Linked DNA regions of Homo sapiens: region 1 is linked to region 2. The links are contacts of gene promoters, found by promoter capture Hi-C in blood cells and fetal thymus (Javierre and others, 2016). All regions are on one chromosome and are shown on one strand. The core of a region is centred on a gene start or on the middle of the fragment in contact, and the rest is flanking DNA. Distances in the headings are between cores, read along the strand shown. Region 1 overlaps LINC01392 (long intergenic non-protein coding RNA 1392). Region 2 holds the start of MDFIC (MyoD family inhibitor domain containing).

Evidence for each region. Contacts are between HindIII fragments. The CHiCAGO score rates a contact against its expected background, and 5 or more counts as called.
Region 1: a fragment that was not itself captured here is called in contact with the fragment with the promoter of MDFIC in region 2 in 3 of 17 cell types (activated CD4 T cells, M0 macrophages and total CD4 T cells); the score reaches 5.6 in activated CD4 T cells.

What each region holds. Positions count from the first base shown.
Region 1 is chr7:115,215,444-115,220,026 of GRCh38, forward strand. All of the region lies in intron 1 of LINC01392 (long intergenic non-protein coding RNA 1392), which reads right to left. Among named protein-coding and RNA genes, the nearest start is that of LINC01392, 14 kb to the right of the region's middle. RefSeq lists an enhancer at 1,116-1,672. The HindIII fragment of the contact is 2,216 bases long and covers 816-3,031 here.
Region 2 is chr7:114,919,537-114,923,966 of GRCh38, forward strand. It overlaps MDFIC (MyoD family inhibitor domain containing), which reads left to right and starts at 2,558. Exons shown (of 5, transcript NM_001166345.3): 1 at 2,558-3,100; 2 at 3,391-3,591. The coding sequence starts at 3,498. RefSeq lists silencers at 2,498-2,637, 2,968-3,017, 3,028-3,207, 3,438-3,577. The HindIII fragment of the contact is 10,461 bases long and covers 1-3,615 here.

The sequences.
Region 1 (4,583 bases), core at 674-3,173, 300 kb after region 2:
TGTGTATGTGTAAAACACATATATATATATGTGTTTGTGTGTGTGTATATATATATGCATATTTGTATATATATAAACGCATATTTGTGTGTGTGTGTGTATGTGTGTGTATATATAGTATATATATATATATATATATATATATATATATATATATATATATATATATATAAAATTCTGTGAGCCAAGGATTGTGGGGGCAACACTCTTAAAAAATGCACTTTTATTTTTATTTCAGTTAAGGACTTTTAAAATGCATTTTAATTAAGTATATTTTGAATTGTTTGCATATGATTTTCTAAGTCATTTGTCTACAATATAATTTGTAGTTCTTACCTAACATAGATATCAGTCAAAATAGATGTTAATGATTTTAAGTTGTAGAAATATTATGATTTATCAAAGTCTATCACATTGGCAAATCCAAAATATTTATAAAAGCAACATAACAACATATAGCACATTTTATCTCAATCATCCTATTAATGTTTTGTCGGGTCTTTTTGGTATTGCAGAAAATAATAAAAACATTTCTGACAACAAAATCATCATCCAGGGCAAGGCTGATGGTCCTAAAAATAATGCATGTGTAACTTGTGTCTTAGAAGCAAGTTTTTTCTGAAACAAAAGAAAAACCTTTTGTTCTCTAGTTAATTACTTCATTATGTTGTAGGTCCAGAATTCTTTCTGAAGAAACCAACCCATTTTAAGGGAAATCACAAAATATTACAGATTATACCATTCAAAACCATTCAAAAATATGGAAGATGTTGACGTTACATAATAAAGCATCTGTGTTAATGTGAAAGAATTTAAGCTTAGGCAACCAGTGCTTCAGTAATGTTTTGATTTCTGTCCACATAAAAATCCTCTTTTGTTTGTAAATAAAGAAGGGGAAATATTTCACTGTGGCATGTTCATCTATTACCTGAAAAATCAGTGGGGTCCTGCAGTTAATCACAGCATTTTCTAATGGGATTTAAAGTTAGAGCTGTCCTCAGTTTTCTTGTGTGCAGATATAAAACATTTGCTCACCAAAACCAGCTCATTTTCTTAGCTTTGTATTTTGCTTCTAGTGTGGGCTAGCTCAGCACTCAAAGATACAGATTTCCTACTATTTTGTATTTCCAGAAATGCCTGTCTTCCATACGGGTGTACAACTTTTAACAGTAATAATTTGAGATGGAAGGGGATTCAAAAGCAAAATCTGCTTTTGAGTCTGCTTGCAAGATACTCAGGGAAATATAATCTCCATTTATTAAATTTGACTGCACTATCATACATAAAGTGGTGGGAGGGAAAAATCTCTTGAAGCTAACTTGATAGCTGAGACTACTCCAGCTTTCTCCTTTGTAATGCCTGTGGTTGTCTCTTCTGAGAAGTGTGATTCAAAGCCATTTTGAGTACCTCACATTCCTTAGCAGAACCTTCTGTGCAAGGCCAGCTACTTCAGAACTAGGTGACTTGCTGCAAAAGAATTAAAAAAAAAATACTAGGATCCTCCTGAGATGACAATTTCGGGAACTACTCTTATGCAGCAGGGAAATTCAGGGCCACACACTTAAGAAAATGAACTATTCCTTGAAACCTGGCCATTTAGCTCTTGAGAAGAGGTTACACATTTTCATCTACTCTTAGCATGGCCAATGATGTTGTGAATGCTCTGAAACTATGCTTTTGTTTTGGAGAATTCTCTCAAAGAAAGCTCCTTTTTTTTCTTCCTAAACACACGTGCAGACACACAACTTACACACATAGTTTTTGTAAATGGCAGCAACACTTCTTATATATTCCCAGAGTGGAAGGAGTACTATTAAACAAAAGTGTCCCTATGTTGAATATACCTGGAACTTTTGAGTAGGGATCATAACTTCTAATCGAGAAGGAAAATAGGACAGTAAACATGTTAAAGGTGCACATACACTGTTGTTATGTAATTGCTGGTTAAAACATGTGATGCTGCATGAAGATAACTATCCTTAGGAAACTTCTGAAAATATATTAAACTACAAGGGGATTTGATTTAATCAATCACTGGAAATGAAATATGAAAAGATTTTAACTTTTTGCCTATCATATTTAATTCTAATCCAACCCTAAAAAGGAAGCACCCTCTGCTGGATTATGTAAGATATAACTGTGACCCAAAAGTAAAAAAGAGTGAGTCTAGCTATAATCAGAGAAAGGGATTACTACTGTATATTCACATGTATCAGGGTATTCACTGCCTGACCTAGATCCAAGACAGCCTTTTTGGAGATTTAAAAAATATCGCATTTATTTTTGATATTTTAGTATGAAGATTTAATATTGGTGACTAGAATGTGTTTGAAGACCTAAAAAGTCTAGAGAAGCTCATCTTAGCCCAGGTTACTTAAAACAATACGTGAAGTATACATTCTAATATATAGTCCAGTGATTAAATATGTCAAACTCAAATTACTCAATGGTTAGAGATTTTAAAAGTTTCAAGCTAATCTTGCAATTTTTCTGAATGTGGTAGTAAAATGCTAAGTATTTTTCTGTTTTTTTTCCTTAAAAATATTAAGTGAATATACTACCAATTTATATTAGAAAATAATATCCATTTACTTAAATTACTAAGCAAATATTCCATTTTTTTCTCTGTAATATCACTCATTAAGGTATTCCATTTGATATTTTTCCAGTTTACTTGCTTGTTAATTAGCATTTACTAGCAGTCGATGATATCTGGAAGTGTATGGCACCTTAAATCTTGTTGAATGAGTGAATAACTCAGACTCATAGACACAGACATATATCTCCAAAACTTATACTCAAGCTAAAGTTCTGGAAACAAGCAAAACCTGTTCTATGTCTTTGCAGATTCTAATTTAAGCAGAATTTGTTGTTGTCTGGTTGAGTCAGATCATCCTTAGCATAACACAGAGAAGCTACTCTGTGCTGATTATTATCAATTTATTGAAGATTTTAAATGCTATAATCTAGAATTTTTTCTGTAGTTAGAATGATTAGGATTCTTGAAAAAAAAAAGACTTCTAGCTTGATAAGCTTGTTATAGTACTTTTGAAGCATATCCTTCAGTTTCTGTCATTTTTTTCTTTGTAAAAAAATGAAATAATCATTCATCTTTACAATACAGGTTACAATTCCTTATGCATTTATGAAAAAAGTAGGCACAACAATATTTAAGTCAACCTTTGGCTGATTCAAAGTGGGTAGCAGAATAAAATTAGAATACAGGTCTCCCTCATTATTTATCTAGGAATCTATTGTAGAAGACTTGAAGTTATTTGAAGTAAGGACTATGTGTGACTTTTTGTCACTGATAGAAAGAAAGGATCCTAGGAAAGTAGCTAGAATATTATAAGCACTAAACAATCATTTGTATCAAATCTAGAATCTAAAGTTAATTCGCCTATCTGAAGCATAGGACAATTTTGTTCTTTTTTATAATTGTTACCAGCATACTGAGATTATTCTGGGACCTTGCTCTCCATTGAGATCTCTTTCTCTTTCTCTCTCTCTGTTACAAGGTGAAATACATACATCTGCATGCTCATGACACATTAGTGGGCTGGACAACAGAATCAGTGCAGTAATGGAGACCAATGGGCTGGAATTCCAGTTCTACCCATGCTTATTATCAAACCTATTACTCTTCTGAGCTTCACTTCATTCATCTGTAAAACTGGGTTAGTATATTATTTAGGGCCACTGTGAGCATCAGAAATAATGCACACAGAGTGCTTGAAAACTTAGGAAGTGCTCAATTAAGATTAACTTATTATCATTACTTATCCAGCATCATTTCTTCCATTGCCTGGTGATTCCTCTAAGTTCCCCCATACTAGTTCACAGCTCTAAGCCAATAAGCATATTTCTTTCTCTTTGTTTATCCTACTACTCTCCATAAATCTGGAAACCTCCTAGTTATCCTTCAATATCCCATTGAAGAATATACCTTGCAATGCTTTTTCTGGCTCTTGCAAGCAGAGTTATTGCTGCTTCCTTTCTGCCAATATAATTCCTCATGATTTTATTGTAGTTTTTTTCATAGTGTATTGCAGTTACTTTACCTGATGTCTATTATGTAGTAGGTACTAATAATGTACCTATTTTGAATTTTGAATAAATAAAAGAAACAGAACTCTGGTTAATAAATATTGATTACATATTATTATGTACCACACGTTATCAATACTAAAGTGCAGAAAAGAATACAAAGAAGAGTAAGAAAAGATCTCAACGGGAAACCCAAAAATGAAAACATGAAAGAAAAGAATGAGCAGTGAGCAATACAAAGGAGTATAGTATACAATAAATTCCACCAGAGTAATACAGACAGTAAGAACTATACAAGACAGCTGGAGTATAAAGAAAGGGCTGCATTAACAAGATATTGTTGAGGTGGAACTGCGAAGACATGTTAAGTTTTAGATGTGAGAGTGTGTGAGGATGACAGCACTGGTAACTGGAACAATAGAAAAATATTCAATATAGAAAACATTAATGATAAAAACTAACAAAACCTGTTCTAAACAGCCTACAAAAACTAAATCCTTTAATCTTTACAACAGCCCTGTGAGGTGGATTCTAGT
Region 2 (4,430 bases), core at 1,308-3,807:
TCAGTGTGAGCCACCACACCTGGCCTCTTGTGTCTTTTTGTAAGGACATTAATTCCATTCATGAGGGCTCCACTCTTATGACCTAACTACCTCCCAAAGGCCCCACTTACTAACACCATGACATTAGGGGCTAAGATTTTAGCATATGAATTTTGGGGAAACACAAACTTTCAGTTCGTGACACTGAGTGAAAGAATGAGAGATGAACGTACTGGAGTGCTTGTCAGTAAACAAATGAAGCAATCAGAACAAGCAAGTGCAGCCAGGGATGTGGGAAATGGGAGGCGTGAGGGACACTCAGGAGCCCACACTTAACTTCTGGCATATCAGACACCAGGTTAATGGCATTAAGACCACTTCTAGGTCCTCCAGAAGGAAGACCTGAGTTACCTAGGGATGCAGGATAGCCTGGAAGAGAGACAGACCTGAGTTCTAATCCTGAAGGTACAATCCTGGCAATTTACTTATAGGGCCGATGGAAGAATTCATTGAGATCATTTGCGTCAGGTGCATGGCATGACAAACTGGTATTTTGATATGACCCTTTTGATACAGTCATTATGCCATGCTCAGCTTTACCCATCAAGATGCTTCCGTGTATAATAGTAATAATAGTTGATACTTTTGAACACCTTTTCCCTTGAGAGTCTTCCAAATTTTATAGGAAAACTACCTTACTTAGTGCTCAAAAAGAAACTCTATGAAGAATTTCATTCTCATATTATGAGGCAACCAAGGTATAGAGTGGGTGACTAACTGTCCAAAGTCACACAGCTGAATGAGGTACAGTATTTGACAACCTTGGTGATGCTACCCTACAGCTTCTCATTTGCTCCTAATGTTATTTTAATTTTATGTCTTCTCCATTAAAGATTTTAAAATTTAATTTAAGGAATATCTATGGAATCACCCACCACGTGTGCAATATTAAGGACTGTGTGAAATTAAATGAACAAATACTTATCATTGATTATGACTTTCTAGAAGAAAGCTGTAACTTCTTTATATTATTGGACTTTAACATCTTTGTGAGAGAATTTTAAAAATAGGGCAAGGAATGATACAGGGATAAAACAGAATTTTCCAGAGCAGGTAAACAACTCCTTTGAGTGCAGATGATGCTGCAGTGAACTCTGAGACGTCCTAAATGTTTGTTCTCTAGTGGTGATGAAGTCATCTTCAGAACTGATCTGCTTCCATCAGACAAATTCCAAACAGTCCAGGCTCCTAGATAAGTTTTCAAGAGAGGTAATGCACTTGATTTCATACCATTTCTGAAATCTCCAAGTGAAAAAAAAATGTTAGTTATGTGTAATGGGGCAAAATGTCATTTGTCTTTTTGGGGAGAATGGTCTGAATGACTGTCATCAGCAACTTTGAAGGCTGTTTTTTTTTTTTTTTTTTTTTTTTTAAATGGAGTCTTGCTCTTGTCGCCCAGGCTGGAGTGCAATGGCACAATTTCTTCTCACTGCAACCTTTGCCTCCTGTGTTCAAGCGATTCTCCTGCTTCAGCCTCCCAGTAGCTAGAATTACTGGCGCCCGCCACAATGCTCAGCTAATATTTGTATTTTTAGTAGAGATTGGGTTTCACCATGTTGGCCAGGCTGGTCTCGAACTCTTGACCTCAGGTGATCCACCTGCCTCGGCCTCCCAAAGTGCTGGGATTACAGGCGTGAGCCACCGCTCCCGGCCGAAGGCTGGCTTTTTTACCATCATTGAAATCAAGTTAGAATGCACTGTCTCTTCATAGGTAACAAGTAAATCTTTGTAATCAATTGGAATAAATTCCAATGAGCTTTTTGAAAAAATGAAATTTCTGGGATATTATTAATGATGCACATAGAAAGACAGTGAATCCAATGCACATTTTCTTCAGTTTTGATAACGTTACTGTGATTCCTCGCTTGTCCAAAAGAATCGAAGAATGAGTTCGTTCTAGCTTTCTACAAATGAATTCTGCATTTCATTCACAATGAAATAAAAGAGCAAAAGTTATCTGAGTATACCACTAAAGTACTATATATCTGTAAATTACTTTACACTTGCTATCCTCGGCTCATCAGATTAAGCTACAATCAGAATGTCTCATTTATAAACGGAAAGTTGATCAGCTTTTTACTTCCGACCACAAGTTTATCTCCCCTCAGATACCACTGATCCAGTGAGGCATTTAGCTTGCCATAGGCCAGGCTGGGGCCAGTACCACGGCATCCGCAAGGGTGCCAACCTTGTTTGCCTGGATGCCTCCAGCAGATTCGCGCAAACTGCAACTGGTTTTACATCAGGAATACTGTTTGACCAAAGAGTAATTTAGGAGCCAGAGATGAAGTGAGTAAACGTTCAACCGAGGGGTCAAGGTTTCAAACGCACACGTTCTCTATCCCACCAGGAAAGTTCGATACTGTAACAGTGTTTTCGTTTTTCCTTGTCCACCCTAAAGGTTTTCGTCAGGATATTCCCAAAGCCTCCGTCGGTCTGGGGGCAGGAGTAGGGAGAAGGGATGAGGTGACTTTTTGGGCGGGGTGGGGGGAACGTCTGGGCAGCCAGGGACCTGCCCATTCACTCCCCTTTCCCAGCCCCGGGAGGGCGCAGCGCCCGGGTGGGGAGCCCGAGCCAGCCCAGGCCGGCTCTGGCCTCCTGACCCAGACAGCGCAGGGCGCGAGGGATCGCGCGGCCGAGCCCGGGTCGCGCCGCTCCCAGCATCGGGGCCGCTAGCCAAGAGTTCGAGGCCTTCCCGATCCGGATGTGATGAAAAAGAGCAACAGAGGGAGAAGTGTTTCAGGATTGTAGGAGTGGAAGAGGGGAAAGAGAGGCAGAGAGGGGGAAGGCCCCCTCGCAGGGGAGCCGGCTGGAGTGAGCTGGCTGGAAAGAGGGGGCGGAGTGCGCGGAGTCAGAGCCGCCACCGCTGCCGCAGTTGCCGCCACTGCGGCGTCTGGGCTGAGCCGGAGGGAGGCGGGAGGACGCGCAGGGGCGGCCGCCGCCGTCGTCAGGCCACCGGGGCGAAAATGCGGCCGCTGCCGGAGGCTCGCTAACTTTCCGGGGCGGAAGAGGAGGAGGAGGAGGAGGAAGGGGCTTGGAGCGACTACGGGGGGATGCGGAGGTAGGTAGTGGTCTCCGGGCGGGGAAGAGGAGGGGTTTGATCCCCATCCCCGGGGTTCTCCCAAACCCGATCTCTCTTTCCAGCCCCTCCCCGCTGGGTCCACCTCGGACCCCTGGGACCCCGCCGCTGTCAACTTGCGCTGTAACAGTTTTCTTCGCAAGTTTCAAATCAAAACTTCCCCGGGGTGGAGTTTGAGGGAGGGAAGTGGAGGGGGAGGGAACGTCCCGCAGGGGTGGTGTGCTCTTCTCTAAAAACATTTTTTTTTTTAATTTTGTATATTTTTCCGCCAGAAGCAGTCAGTTCCCTGCACCCAGCACCTCACAGCCCTTCCTCCGTGCGCCCTGCCGGGCGGCGAGCTAGGCGGCAGCGGCGCGGCGCGGGCTCGGCGGAGCGGCCCATGTCCGGCGCGGGCGAAGCCCTCGCTCCCGGGCCCGTGGGGCCGCAGCGCGTGGCCGAGGCGGGCGGCGGCCAGCTGGGCTCCACAGCCCAGGGTGAGTGCGCGCTTGCAAGTGGCAAGCTTCTTTGTCATTGTTGCATTTTTCAGTTTGCTCACAAGTGCACAGATAGGGGTGGGGGGAGTGCTGTGAGGAGGGGCTCCCACTCGTAGTTGAGAACTTTTGCACAGTTCGCGTTACTCAGGCAAGTTCTTCAGGATCCTTGCCCTAGATCAACAACCGGGTAAGAGGGCGGGAACCGTTGGTCCCTCCACTCCCCCTTCCTTTGGTTGCGAAGAAACAGGATGACAGGATTGCTTCTTTCTTAAGCATATGCATGTTTGGGCCTAAGACTCAATGTGTAGGTTCTGAAGCGCTTCTCCTCTAGGTCTCTTCAGCAGATCCAGGACTGCCGCAGCTCTCTGAACAAGCGTGCACTTACTCCATTTCATCTTTCTGTTTCTTGTTGGCTCCTCTACCACCCGGTTGATAATTCAGGTTTCTGTGACCAGTAGCTTTGGAATGGCTTATGCTTGTTTTCAATAACTGGTTTGTTTTGAAATAAATAAACAAGGTTTATAAGAAACACTTTCCAAGAATGAATTAGCTTCTTTGTGTTCTTCCAAAGTGTAAACACACACAGCCTATAAAATACTCTTGTGTCTGGGAAACTTCCATAACAAGCTTCTAAACGAGTTGAACCTTTCTTCTCTTGAAGGCAATATACTTTAGGTTTCCATTGGTGACAGAGAGGAAGGTTCTTAAACTTCTAATGCATTTTACTCTAAGGATGGTTTTGAGCTAAAGAATTCTGTCACTGATATATCAGAACTAAGTAATTTTTCCAGTGCTCAAAAACCTAGCATATACCCCTGATTTTAGGCATAAACTGATAG